Linked DNA regions of Homo sapiens: all the other regions are linked to region 2. The links are contacts of gene promoters, found by promoter capture Hi-C in blood cells and fetal thymus (Javierre and others, 2016). All regions are on one chromosome and are shown on one strand. The core of a region is centred on a gene start or on the middle of the fragment in contact, and the rest is flanking DNA. Distances in the headings are between cores, read along the strand shown. Region 1 overlaps MCMBP (minichromosome maintenance complex binding protein). Region 2 holds the start of SFXN4 (sideroflexin 4). Region 3 overlaps MCMBP (minichromosome maintenance complex binding protein).

Region 1 (4,395 bases), core at 1,507-4,006, 700 kb before region 2:
CAAGTGCCTGCCACCATGCCCAGCTAATTTTTTTTTTTTTGAGACTGAGTCTTGCTCTGTCACTCAGGCTAGGGCGCAGTGTTACAATCTTGGCTCACTGCAGCCTCTGCCTCTTGGGTTCAAGTGATTCTCCTGCCTCAGCCCCCTGAGTAGCTGGGATTACAGGTGCATGCCACCATGCCCAGCTAATTTTTGTATTTTTAGTAAAGACAGGGTTTCACCATGTTGGCCAGGCTGGTCTTGAACTCCTGACCTAGTGATCCGCCCACCTTGGCCTCCCAAAGTGCTGGGATTGTAGGCGTGAGCCACCACACCGAGCCGCTAATTTTTGTATTTTTAGTAGAGACAGGATTTCACCATGTTAGCAAGGCTGGTCTCGAACAGGTGATCTGCCTGCCTCGGCCTCTCAAAGTGCTGGGATTATAGGCGTGAGCCACCGCGCCCGACCCAGACCCTCATCTCCAATGCTACTGTCAAAATTAAAGCCATCGTAGTCTCTTTCCTGGACGCTGGAACAGCCCTCTAACTGGTTTCTTGCCTCCAGTCTTGCTTCTCTTCCACCTGCCATACTGGAACCAAGTCCTTCAGTGACTTCTTGTTACCCTTACTATCTGATCCAGGACTTTTAAAGTGGTTTATGAGGCCCTTGTTGGCTCCACCCTTGCCTTGCTCTGAGACTTTATCACTGCGTACCCCCTCCTCATACTCCATCCCAGCCGCACTGAACCTTTTTTCAGTTCTTTAATTTTGAACCTGTGTCTAGGCCTTTTTGCATCTGCTGATTTCTTGTGCCTGATTCCCCCTCCCATCCCATGTCCACTTTTCTGGCTAAGTCTTACTTTTCCTTTGGGAACTTAAGTTAGGTACCAAAGTAGGGTACCCCTGCTCCATGTTACTGCAGGATCCTATTATATATGTCTTTGAAAAATAGTGTGTAAAGTGCATTGTTGAAATTCCTTGTTTCGGAAGTTCCTTTGCTGGATTTTGACCCCGCGAATTCAGGGCCCCTGTATCTGCATTATTCACCACTGTATCCTAATTTCTTAGAATTTGCCTTGTACATTGAAAGTGCTCAGTGGACACTTGTTGAACAAAAGCAGTGAAAAGACTGATTAATCAGAAATGTTGTTAATTGAAATGGCTAGTGAGATCACAAATCTCAAAATTTTTCTTTTCTTTTTTTCTGGAGTCAGTGTCTTGCTCTGTTGCCCAGGGTGGAGTGCAGTGGCGTGATCTCGGCTCACTGCAACCTCCGCCTTCTGGGTTCAAGCCATTCTCATGCCTCAGCCTCTCGAGTAGCTGGGATTAAAAGTGTGCACCACCATGCCTGGCTAATTTTTCTATTTTTAATAGAGACAGGGTTTTGCCATGTTGGCCAGGCTGGTCTTGAACTCCTGGCCTCAAGTGATCTGCCCCCACTTGGCCTCCCAGAGTGCTGAGATCTCAGGTGTGAGCTGCTGCGCCCAGCCTCTTTAGCTGTTTTCCCTTCAACTATTGGTTAGACCAAGATCATTATTCTCGTTATATTTAAGCTTCTTTGGTTGTATCTAACAGAACTAGACTAGCTCATGCAAAAAAGAGCAGGGTTGGGTGAAGAGGGGCAGAGCAGACTATTTTATCACTAGCATTTTAGAGAATTTAAAGCAATAATAAAATGAACTAAAAGTTAGTTGGTCTGCTTTTTATTATCACCATGAATCTAAACAGACAATCTGTGCCCTTATTGTCTGTACCCAGCTTGGACCTCTTCTACCACTCTGTCCTTGGTAGGCCACTGAAAAAAGTTAATTTATATTAAGGCTATAAAACCCAAGAACAGGGGAAGTGGTTGGGTATTCGAAGAGACTGAGTGGAATCAGGAACTGGAAAGCTAGCAGGAATCCAAGCAACTCAGTATTTCTTCTCTTGGGATACATTAATCTCTGCACACTTTCTCTTTCTCTACTCCATGTCTCCCAAATTTACTTGTTCTCGGTTCCAACCCACGCTAGCTAGCATCTTTATTTTCAGGCATAGAAAATCTGATTGGCACAACATGGAGTCAGGAATCCATTCACTCAGGGATCAGTCATCTGTGGCCATGGCACAGAGTTAGGTAGGACAATCGTGACTGTTATCCACACCTCAACATTGGGGGCGTTCTCAAAGAAGAAGAATAGCTCCGGCAGCCATGGCAGATGGCATACGTAGGAGTTTTTAAGTTATAATAACTTACACATGGTTTTAAAAAAAATCAACATGATGGTATGAACTGAGTGAAAGTACGTGCTCCCTCCATTGAAGTAACCACTTTTTTTTTTTTTTTTTTTTTTTTTTTTTGAGATGGAGTCTCGCTCTGTCGCCCAGGCTGGAGGGCAGTGGTGCGATTTCGGCTCACTGCAACCTCTCCCTCCCAGGTTCAAGCGATTCTCATGCCTCAGCCTCTTGAGTAGCTGGGACTACAGGCGACCACCACCACACCTGGCTAATTTTTGCATTTTTAGTAGAGTCGGGGCTTCACCGTGTTGGCCAGGATGGTCTCGACCTCCTCTGCCCTCGTGATCCACCACCCTCGGCCTCCCAAAGTGCTGGGATTAGAGGCATGAGCCACCGTGCCCTGCCTGAAGTAACCGCTTTTAACTGTTTTTGCTTTTAGAGGTTTTTTTCTTTGAGACAGAGTCTCGCTCTGTCACCCAGGCTAGAGTGCAGTGGCACGATCTCTGCTCACTGCAACCTCTACCTCCCAGGTTCAAGCAGTTCTACTGCCTCAGCCTCCCGAGTAGTTGGGACTACAGGCGCCTGCCACCACACCCAGCTAACTTTTTGTATTTTCGTAGAGATGGTGTTTCACTATGTTGCTCAGGCTGGTCCAAAAAAATTTTTTTTCTTTGAAATAAAATTCACATAACAAAATTTAACATTTTAAAATGTACAATTGAATTTTTTTTACTGTATTCATAATGATGTTGTGCAACCATCACCACCACTATCTTTTTCTCTTTTTTTTGAGACGGAGTCTCACTCTGTTGCCCAGGCTGGAGTGCAGTGGTGCAAACTTGGCTCACTGCAACCTCTGCTTACCGGGTTCAAGCGATTCTCTTGCCTCAGCCTCCCAAGTAGCTGGGATCACAAGCATGCACCACCATTCCTGGCTAATTTTTGTATTTTTAGTAGAGACGGAGTTTTACCATGTTGGTCAGGCTGCTCTTGAACTCCTGATCTCAGGTGATCCACACGCCTCGGCCTCCCAAAGTGTTGGGATTACAGGCATGAGCCACCACGCCCGGCCACCCCTATCATTTTCATCACTCCAAAAAGAAACCCCATACCTTTAGTAGTCTCTCCCATTTCTTCTGTCTTCCATCTCTGGCAACAACTATACTTCTGCCCATGGATTTACCTATTCTGGACGTTTCGTGTAGGTGGAATTATACAACATGTGGCCTTTGAGGTCTGGCTTCTTTTCATTTACCATGATATTTTCATGGTTCATCCATGTCATAGTATGCATCAGTACTGCATTCCTTTTTTTTTTTTTTTTAAGAGATAGAGCCTGGCTCTGTCGTCCAGGCTGGAATGCTGTGTGGCAAGATCATGGTTCACCGCAGCCTTGAACTTCCAGTCTCAAGTGATCCTGCAGCCTCAGCTTCCTGAGTAGCTGGGACTACAGGCATGTATTACCTGTATTACCACACCCAGCTAATTTTTAAATCATTTTTTGTAGATTTGGGGTCTCACTATGTTGCCCAGGCTACACTCAAACTCCTGGCCTCAAGTGACCCTCCCGCCTCGGCCTCCCAAAGTGCTGGGATTACAGATGTGAGCCACTGTACCCAGTCTGCATTCCTTTTTATGGCTGAAAATAACATTCCATTGTATGTCTATACTGCATTTTGTTTATCCATATATTTGCTGATGGACACTTAGGTTATTTCCTGGCTGTTATAAATACTGCTACTATAAACATTCATGTACAAGTTTTTGTGTGAATGTAAGCTTTTTGGTTCTTTCCCAGATATACCTAGGGATGGAATTGCAAGGTCATATGATAATTTTATATTTAACTTTTTGAGGAATTGCCAAACTTTTCCACAGTGGCTGCACCATTTTACTTCCCAGGTTCAAGCAATTCTCCTGCCTCAGCCTCCCAAGTAGCTGGGATTACAGGTACCACCAGCAAGCCCAGCTAACTTTTGTATTTTTAGTAGAGATGAGGTTTCACCATGTTGGCCAGGCTGGTCTCAAACTACTGATCTCAGGTAATCTGCCTGCCTTGGCCTCCCTAAGTGCTGGGATTACGGGCATAAGCCACTACGCCTGGCCTAAAATGTTTTTAAGAAAGGTTGTGTGAGAAGAGAACAAGAGGCACATTATATAATGTTAAAACAGTCAGTTCACCAAGAAGACCTAACTATA
Region 2 (4,620 bases), core at 2,048-4,547:
ACCAATTATCAGAGACAGGCAGGCCTTTTTTTTTTTTTTTGAGACGGAGTCTTGCTCTCGCCCAGGCTGGAGTGCAGTGGCGCTCTCTCAGCTCACTGCAAGCTCCGCCTCCTGGGTTCACGCCATTGTCCTGCCTCAGCCTCCTGAGTAGCTGGGACTACAGGGCGCCCACCACCACGGCTAATTTTTTGAATTTTAGTAGAGACGGGGTTTCACCGTGTTAGCCAGGATGGTCTGGATCTCCTGACCTCGTGATCCACCCGCCTTGGCCTCCCAAAGTGCTGGGATTACCGGCGTGAGCCACCGTGCCCGGCCTAGAGACAGGCAGGCCTTAATGAAACTTTCATCTTTATGTTTTAAAGGAAATCTTTAAAAGTTTAAAGAACTTTAGGTTAAAAATTGGGAGATTGCCACTCACTTTTGGGACTATTATTATGGTAAAGTCACAGTTACCTAATTAAGCTTTTGTATTTTCAGATCAAGCCAAGTCCAGCTGCTTCCAAAGAGTACTTTCAGAAGGTAAATCAGTAGATCACCCATGTGTATCTGCACCTTCTCAACTGAGAGAAGAACCACAGTTGAAACCTGCTTTTATCATTTTCAAGATGGTTATTTGTAGAAGGCAAGGAACCAATTATGCTTGTATTCATAAGTATTACTCTAAATGTTTTGTTTTTGTAATTCTGGCTAAGACCTTTTAAACATGGTTAGTTGCTAGTACAAGGAATCCTTTATTGGTAACATCTTGGTGGCTGGCTAGCTAGTTTCTACAGAACATAATTTGCCTCTATAGAAGGCTATTCTTAGATCATGTCTCAATGGAAACACTCTTCTTTCTTAGCCTTACTTGAATCTTGCCTATAATAAAGTAGAGCAACACACATTGAAAGCTTCTGATCAACGGTCCTGAAATTTTCATCTTGAATGTCTTTGTATTAAACTGAATTTTCTTTTAAGCTAACAAAGATCATAATTTTCAATGATTAGCCGTGTAACTCCTGCAATGAATGTTTATGTGATTGAAGCAAATGTGAATCGTATTATTTTAAAAAGTGGCAGAGTGACTTAACTGATCATGCATGATCCCTCATCCCTGAAATTGAGTTTATGTAGTCATTTTACTTATTTTATTCATTAGCTAACTTTGTCTATGTATATTTCTAGATATTGATTAGTGTAATCGATTATAAAGGATATTTATCAAATCCAGGGATTGCATTTTGAAATTATAATTATTTTCTTTGCTGAAGTATTCATTGTAAAACATACAAAATAAACATATTTTAAAACATTTGCATTTTACCACCAGTAACTGTTGGATCAGCTTATTTTGGGCTCTCCTTTCCTTCTCAGATTATCAACAAACATTTATTGAGCATTTACCTCAGGGGCCACAAAGAGAATAAGATGCTGGTTCCGCACTCAAGGAACTCGGTTTAGGGGCAAGACAGATAGGGAAACATTTTCTCGTTGTTTCAGTAAATCCTTGAGTGCCTACCCCGCACCAGGTGCTGTTTTCCAGGCACAAGAGCGAACAACGGACAAACCCCTGCTTTTAAGCTCTTACATTCTAGAGGGGAAACACCTCATACATGTAGTAAAAGTAGAGTGTTTGGAAGGAAAATAATGTGGAGTGAAACTGCTGAAGCGGAGTTGTAGGTGTTCTAGATGGGGTTGTCAAGGAAGGCCTTAAGGGAGAGCCTCTCTGGATCAATTTTCTCATTGTAAAATGAGGACAATAATTGTACTTATCTCAGGGTTTTGATGAGCATCGAGGGAGAGAAAACGCGTAGAAAGTGAGAGTATTACGGGGATAAGAGACTTCTAGGCAGAGGGCAGGGAAAACACAAAGGCCGTGAGGCAAGAGTGGGCTCAGAGCGGATGCAGATTTACTAGGAGGCCGGTGACTATGGCTGTGGTGGGGGTCCCAGAGTGCCTTTTGGCCAGGCCAAGGACTTTAGGTTCTGTTCTGGGGTGGGGAATGTCAGGAAGGATTTGAAAAGAAGAGTGACATCAACTTGTTCTAAGAGAATCACTCTGGCTCCTTTGTTAAGACGACATAGCAGTCCAAAGTGGGGAAGCAGGCCAGCGGGCTGGCTTTGTGACATCCTGGAGGGTAGAGACAACAGAATAGAACAGCACGCTACATACTGCACTGGTGCTTAGATGGATTTCTGCGGCATAAGGGTAGAAGTGGAGGGGGCACCTTACTCAACTCGGAGGGTCAGGGAAGGCTTCCTGGAAGAGGAGATAAACCCCTGGAGGTTAAGAAAAGTGAGCTAGGCAAACTGAGCAAATACAGAAGCAGAGTCATACAGGCCTGAAGGACGCCATGAGCCAATTTCCTGTTCCTGGAGGCGCAGGGCAAGGGAAGGAATTGGCCCGCTGGAGGTTAATGGCCAATACTGAGCACTTCTGAGGGCTCAGTGCTGTGTTAGGGATGTTTTATCTCCTTTGATCAGAAACAAAACCCTGAGATAGGTACAATTGTTATCCTCATTTTGCGGATGGGAAAATAGACTTCGAGATACTGACTTGGCGAGGGTCACACAACTAGATGATGTGCTGGGTCCCCCAGTCCTGGACTCCGGAGGCCCCCTGAACGACCTAGGCACACTTGTGGCTTCCGTGAATTTAAGTGCACACAGCCCCCGCCTGGCCCTGTGCTGGGGAAGGGCAGGTGGGAGGAGGAAGGGAAGGCAGGTTTTTCTTTACAAATGGTACCTATTTGGTAGTCAACAAAAGGAACTGGATTTGCCCCAACACTGGAAGAAAAAAAAAAACAACCTGTTGGGCTGAGGGATAGTGCACTGTGCCCAGGGCCCTATACTTGGTTTGATGCTCTGGTGTTACTCTCTTGAAATTCTCAGTAACATGAATAAGGGGCACCGCATTTGACATTTTCCCTGGGCTGAGACCATGATGCAGCCGGCCTGACTGCGCAACACCATGCACACTGGAATTCGTGGGCCATCGGAGGGATTTTCGAGGGTAATGACCAGGGGTAGGGCGCGGCAGAAGCGCAGGGTGAGGTTGCGGACGGCCTCACTCACAACCTTTCCGGGTCTTCGCATTAGGTACTGTGATGACGGGTTCCGATAGTGACCCCTTGGGGCCTGGAGACGGCCCGGCTCCCCAAAGGTGCGGAGCAGGGCAAGCAGGGTTGGGAGGACGTGGCCCGTGGGAGAGCTGCGCTCGCCGGAACAGTGGGCGCGCAAGGGCCCCGAGGCGCTGTGACACGGGACGTCGGGCGCGCGGGCCTGGGGCGGGAACTGCGGGTGCGCGCGGCCCGGGGCGGGGCTCGCCGCCCGGCTCCTCCTCCACGCGCGGCCTGGCGGCGGCGGCCACTCTAACCAGCGCAAAATGTCCCTGGAACAGGAGGAGGAAACGCAACCTGGGCGGCTCCTAGGACGCAGAGACGCCGTCCCCGCCTTCATTGAGCCCAACGTGCGCTTCTGGATCACCGAGCGCCAAGTACGGCCCGGGCCCGGCGCGACTAGGGGCAGGGAGGGGGCGGGCCGGGCCGCGTGGAGTCGGGCTGACCCGGGTGACCTTGGCCAGGCCACGTGGGCGCCCCCTGTCTCCGTTTCCTCCTCTCGGAGTTGTGCCGGGAACGCGCACCACCGGCCTTCACCCCTTAGGGCGCGGCAGGGGACGCAGGGGAAATCGAAGCTGCCAGATGCCCACGACCACAACGTCACCCTCCAGATTGCCCTCTCGGAGGGGCCCAGTCCGCGCAGGTGGCTGCTCCCTACTGCCTGAGCTGTGGCTGAGCAGCAGATTGGGGAGAAACAGGCTCTCGCACCTTGGTAAGCTCAGCCACTTTCGGTGAGACCCCCGAGGCTTTGGGAAGCCACCCTTGGGCAGGACATAAGCAGGACTTATCTCCCTGCAGCGTCTAGGGCAGCACCGTCCAATAGAAATATGATGTGAGCCTTACAGGTAATTAAACATTTTCTAGTAGCCACATTAAACAAGATAAAAACAGCTGAAATTTTTAACAATACAGTACATTTAGCCTAGCAGGTGCAAAATATTAACATTTCAACATGTAATCAGTAAAAAACATTGCTGAGATATTTTACTCGCTTTTTTGGTACAGAGTGTTCCAAATCCGGCGTCTGTTACCTTCACAGCACATCTGGGTTCAGCCGCATGTGGCGAATTGGAGAGCAGGGCTTTAGGGGGTTCTCTTTGAGGCCTCTCCTAAAGTGGGGTCCAGCCCTGTTTTTTTTTTAGGTGGGGAAATTGAGAAGGGGCGGTGAGCTCAGGTTGCTCCAGCAGAGCCAAGGCTTAAAGCCAGAACCACTACAAAGTTTAGAGTTTGCTGGAGCAAACCTCTTTTTCCCCAGTGTGACCCCAGCTGCACCATTGAGCCCTTAATGGGGCGTCCATCCTTTGTCACTGGAGTGAAGCCTTATAGCAAGCAGAGAGTGAGGCCACAGACTCTTGAGATATTCTAGGCCATTGCTTCGAGGTCGTATGTGAGATATGAACGTAAGACCATTTGAACCCCCAAAGTCTGGGATTTTAACCCTCAAGGGCAATTTGATACTGAGAGGTTAAGGGCACAGACTTCTGAATCATTTCCTGGCTGTGTTGCCTTGAGTACATTCAGGA
Region 3 (4,386 bases), core at 435-2,934, 670 kb before region 2:
CCTCAGTAGCTGGGACCATAGGTGTGCACCACCATGCCCAACTAAAGTTTTGTTTTTTTGTTTTTTCTTTTCTTTTTTTTTCTTTCTTTTTTTTTTTGTAGTGATGAGGTCTTGCTTTATTGCCTAGGCTGGTCAACTCCTGGCTTCAAGTAGTCCTCCCACCTTGGCCTCCCAATGTGTTGGGATTACAGGTGTAAGCCACCACATCTAGCCACAACCAGACATTTTAAATTATATAATATGGCAACTCTGCTTTGGAAGTTACTCTGGAAATTAAACCTCCCTAGGGTTTATTGTTGTTGCTGTTTGTTACTGTTGGTAGGTTGTTTAGTAACTTTTTTGACTAATTCTATAAAGTCTGTATCTTTGTCACATGTGGGCACTGAAGTCTCTGCTCTGTTAGTTTTGTGGTTAATGATTGGAAAGAAATTTCCTTAAATGCTGGGTAGTAGTCTCCCAGTCTACGGGTGAATAATAATCATAAATAAAAATAAAAGTTGGGGCAAGCCCTCAGTTCAACACTTAGCCATGCAATTTACAAGCCTTAGCCTTCATTTCCTGCTCGCACAGAGCCTCCAGGTCATGCAGAGGTGGGAGCTATGGTCTCTGAGCATGTCTGCAGCCTTCTGAGTTCCTAGGAGTTACATACTTAAGGTTTTCAGAGCCCTCTACAGACATGTCATTTCCCAGCTAGCTTTTCCATTGAAGGGTTTGGGTTAGTCTGTCTGCCGCAGCTGTTACCCAGTGTCTCAGGTAGCTAAGGTGATTGGTAATTTCTTCCGATTGTTTTTGATAAATGCCCTGGGGAAAGAGGTGGTTCATAGTAGACAGGCTTCCAGTCAGGTTAAATAAAGACAACCTTGCAAATGGGTCCTTCCAGGGAGCCACCAGACAGGTGGTCAGATGACAGTTCTCCGGGAATGGCACTTGGAAGGAGCCCTAGCCCTGTTCTCTCTCCGGTGGCTGCCAGGCTGTTGATTTTTGAAGCTACTAATTATCGCCTGGAGGGGAAGGGGTTGGAATTTAGGAGTAGGACATGTTAAAATGCTGCCAGGCTCAACATTCTTACCAATAATCACCTGGTTTTCTTGCATAAATGCTCTCTGGATTGCTGCAAGTATGGTTTTATTTCTAGTTTTTAAAAAGCTGATTTTGATCAGTGTTAACAGTAGAGACAGTTTTCTGCGGTCCCTTCTCTGCCATTTTCACTAACATCACTCTTCCTTTGTGGAAAAGCATTGTTTCCTATGCCAGTTGCTGATTTATATGTTTGCTTGACCTTAAATGAATCTGAGTTTCATTATTTTATTTTCATCAGCAGCATTATGTATGTATATGCTTTGGTACTTTCACCCATATTGCCTCCTTTGTCTAAGAGGCTGACATGCACCTTACTACATCAGTCAAGGAACCATGTTAATTTTCTTTTCCTTACAAAAATGCACATCATTTACATTTACTCTTTTGATAAAGGCAGTTGAAGATGACTTTGTGGAAATGCGGAAGAACGACCCTCAGAGCATCACTGCTGATGATCTTCACCAGCTGCTCGTGGTGGCTCGGTAAGTGGCGCACGTCCATTATTGCTGTTTCGGTAAGCTTGTGTATATGTCTTCTGAGTTATTCAGCAGTAACTGAGGCAGAATTCTAAAAACGGAAATGAACTTTTCCTTTTAAAAACGCTGTATGAAAGGGCTCATTGAGGGGGAATCGAGTTTGGCTGGTGATCTCTTCAGTGGAACAGGCATGCTGCTTGTTCTCTAAGCTTCAAAGAGTGAGCCACTTTCCAATTCTGACTCTTCAACGATTTCTTTTTAGAAGCCTAACTTGGCTGTTGACTTGTGTGTAACTACCATACGGTCTTGTCTCCTAACGTGCTCTGTGTTTTCACAAAGTATTCCTAGGTCTTAAAAAAAATTTAAAACTTACTATCCCAGCTCTAGACTTAAATTTGTTTCTGTGTTTCAAACCAGGTGTCTGTCTCTCAGTGCTGGTCAGACAACGCTGTCAAGAGAACGATGGCTGAGAGCAAAGCAGCTAGAGTCTTTAAGAAGAACGAGGCTTCAGCAGCAAAAATGTGTGAATGGAAATGAACTTTAAAGATGTAATACCTATGAAGAGTAATGGGCAAACTGTAGCCACATAATTGTAAAATTCAGATATTCATTTATACCACATTGTTTTATAGGTAATTTCTATCACAAACCAGTGACATTTCCTGAAATCAAGCCTGGTAACACCTGATGTTTATATGATATTCAGTAAGGACTTTTACCTTACTGATTTCATGGAGCTTTTGAAGTTTGTTTTATAATAATTATATAAATTAGTAATGATGTAAAAAAAGTATTTGATATTAAAAGTTTAATATTGATAATGTTGCTGATTGTACCATTTCCTTAGCTTCAGCTGAGTCATAGGCCAGACTGTTGAAATGCTGAAATGAAGAAGGTTGTTGCAGTTTCAAAGTCAGAGGAATCGTGCTTCGGATTTCTTATGTTTTCTAGTTCTCTGTTTTTCCAGTTCACAGTGGGTTGGGGTGCATTCAGTAGTCCATCTTTGGGGAACGGAGGCGTACTTGCCATTGATTCACATGACTACATGAAATTCTGTACTGTCATTTCCCAGATGTTTGGCCACAGAAACTTTTTCCCACTTAACATTTGTTAACAGCCTGCAAAACTAAACTTGTACATGGCAGTGGTTCCCAGACTTTTGTATTTTATGGACCGGTAGTAATATTTCCAAAAATCTGGGGTACTATAAGGTTGCCAATTTACCTTGCCAAGTAATCCGAATAAATCACTGTATTATCACCATTTTTTTCATAAAAGGAAAGGACAATCTATCTCTGAATAAGAGGAGTCCTTTAAACGGAATGAATGTGGCTTTTGGGGGCAAAAGAAACCAAGACACTACATTGTCTTTATTTTCTCCTATCCCAGTGCATTTGAGAACCATGCATAAGGGAATGCTGTGCTACAAAGCTGTGCCCAAATATGAAAACAAAATAGGAAACTTAAAAAGCAATACCCCCTTTAGAAAGTTTTTATTTTCTTAAATGTCATTGAGTTGCTTTGATTCTATTGGATTTTTGGCATTTTTTATGGGATCATCAGTTGGTTCCAAGTATGTTAGATCAGCTAACATCTGCTACTCCAGTAACAGCCTCGTACAACTGCAGGTAGGTTTTCTCCAGACCAATTAGTTTTAATAGAGCAAACTAACAACAGACTGTAGTAGCATGGTTATGGCAACCAGAATCTTCAGAAAGGTTAGGACATTACTTTTTAAGCTGTCAGTGGTATCAAATAACTTACCTAGTTGGAGGCAGATAAAGGATCCCTTACGTTTTTTCCTATAAGGCCTAAATTGAAATTGTTAACCAAGGAAACAGGGTCAGCCTTGAAAAATCAAGGAATTCATTGTACCTAATAACTGAAGTAAAAATAACTAGTTGTTCAACTTTTCCTAAACTCAAATCTATTTTTATAAACAAATGTAAATAATGTTTATATTAGAGTTGAACTGGTTTTCATTTTTATAACTGGTAGACTAGACCTTCCTTAAACTTTTAGAAATAAAATGAAGGCTTCACTGGATTTGTGAGGATAAAATACATTTTCTTTAATTGTCCTAGAGCAAAGTACATTAGTCACCATGTGTTTTTTGTGCCAATGTAAATTGTAATTTACCAAAGAAAAATACATACATTGCTTGGTCTTGCAGAAAAGTTCCCTTGAAAGAACCTTTCCAATAAATAAAACGTCCCAAATTAGCAGTACCTTGGGCTGTTTTTCATGAGTAAGAAGATTCACCATCCCATGTGATCTGTGTGGAAAAAGACCATGTCCTCTTGGTGGAAGACATGAGAGAGCTGAACTGAAGTGGAGGAGGTGGTGCAAGAGGGACCTTCCTGCTCAAGGCCCGCCCAGGCAGCGGAATGGAGTGCAGTGCTTGGCTGCAGAAACCCTTTGTCCCTCACCTATATATACACGGACAGTCAAGTTTGTTGCTCTAACGTAAGGCACAGCGTTAATCCTGTATGGCCAGGAAACTGAGTAGACTCCTGTGTAACCCTGTTTGGAACTTTGCCTTCTTAAAATGATTTTTCAAAGATCTCTTTCGAACTAATTTCTGTAGAGTTTAAACGTGTATTTTATCACCTAATGTTGGGTTGTATTTTCTCCCATGTTGGGAACCCTTAATATTTTCAGGACCCGGAAGAAAAGTTGGTAGAAGCAAGCATTCAGTTTTGAATGTTTGGATTTAAAGTATAGTTTCTGATCCATTTCCCTTTTTACATCATGAGTATATTTCAAAGGAGTAACATACTGGCAACAGCTAGACCAAGTGTTCAGTTATAGCAAATCTGCCGTTTACAAA

What was found. The method cuts DNA at HindIII sites, captures the fragments that hold promoters and counts their contacts. A CHiCAGO score of 5 or more calls a contact.
Region 1: a contact is called between a fragment that was not itself captured here and the fragment with the promoter of SFXN4 in region 2, in 6 of 17 cell types (total CD4 T cells, fetal thymus, total B cells and 3 more). The highest score is 10.1, in total CD4 T cells.
Region 3: a contact is called between a fragment that was not itself captured here and the fragment with the promoter of SFXN4 in region 2, in 1 of 17 cell types (total CD8 T cells). The highest score is 6.5, in total CD8 T cells.

Annotation. Positions count from the first base shown.
Region 1 is chr10:119,865,217-119,869,611 of GRCh38, reverse strand. All of the region lies in intron 1 of MCMBP (minichromosome maintenance complex binding protein), which reads left to right. Among named protein-coding and RNA genes, the nearest start is that of MCMBP, 5.4 kb to the left of the region's middle. The HindIII fragment of the contact is 2,443 bases long and covers 1,535-3,977 here.
Region 2 is chr10:119,164,391-119,169,010 of GRCh38, reverse strand. SFXN4 (sideroflexin 4) reads left to right here and starts at 3,297. Exons shown (of 14, transcript NM_213649.2): 1 at 3,297-3,474. The coding sequence starts at 3,364. It overlaps PRDX3 (peroxiredoxin 3), which reads left to right. Exons shown (of 7, transcript NM_006793.5): 7 at 478-1,291. The coding sequence ends at 531. RefSeq lists silencers at 3,149-3,618, 3,660-3,846. The HindIII fragment of the contact is 6,667 bases long and covers 893-4,620 here.
Region 3 is chr10:119,829,188-119,833,573 of GRCh38, reverse strand. It overlaps MCMBP (minichromosome maintenance complex binding protein), which reads left to right. Exons shown (of 16, transcript NM_001256378.2): 15 at 1,474-1,562; 16 at 1,974-4,134. The coding sequence ends at 2,100. Among named protein-coding and RNA genes, the nearest start is that of MCMBP, 41 kb to the left of the region's middle. The HindIII fragment of the contact is 166 bases long and covers 1,602-1,767 here.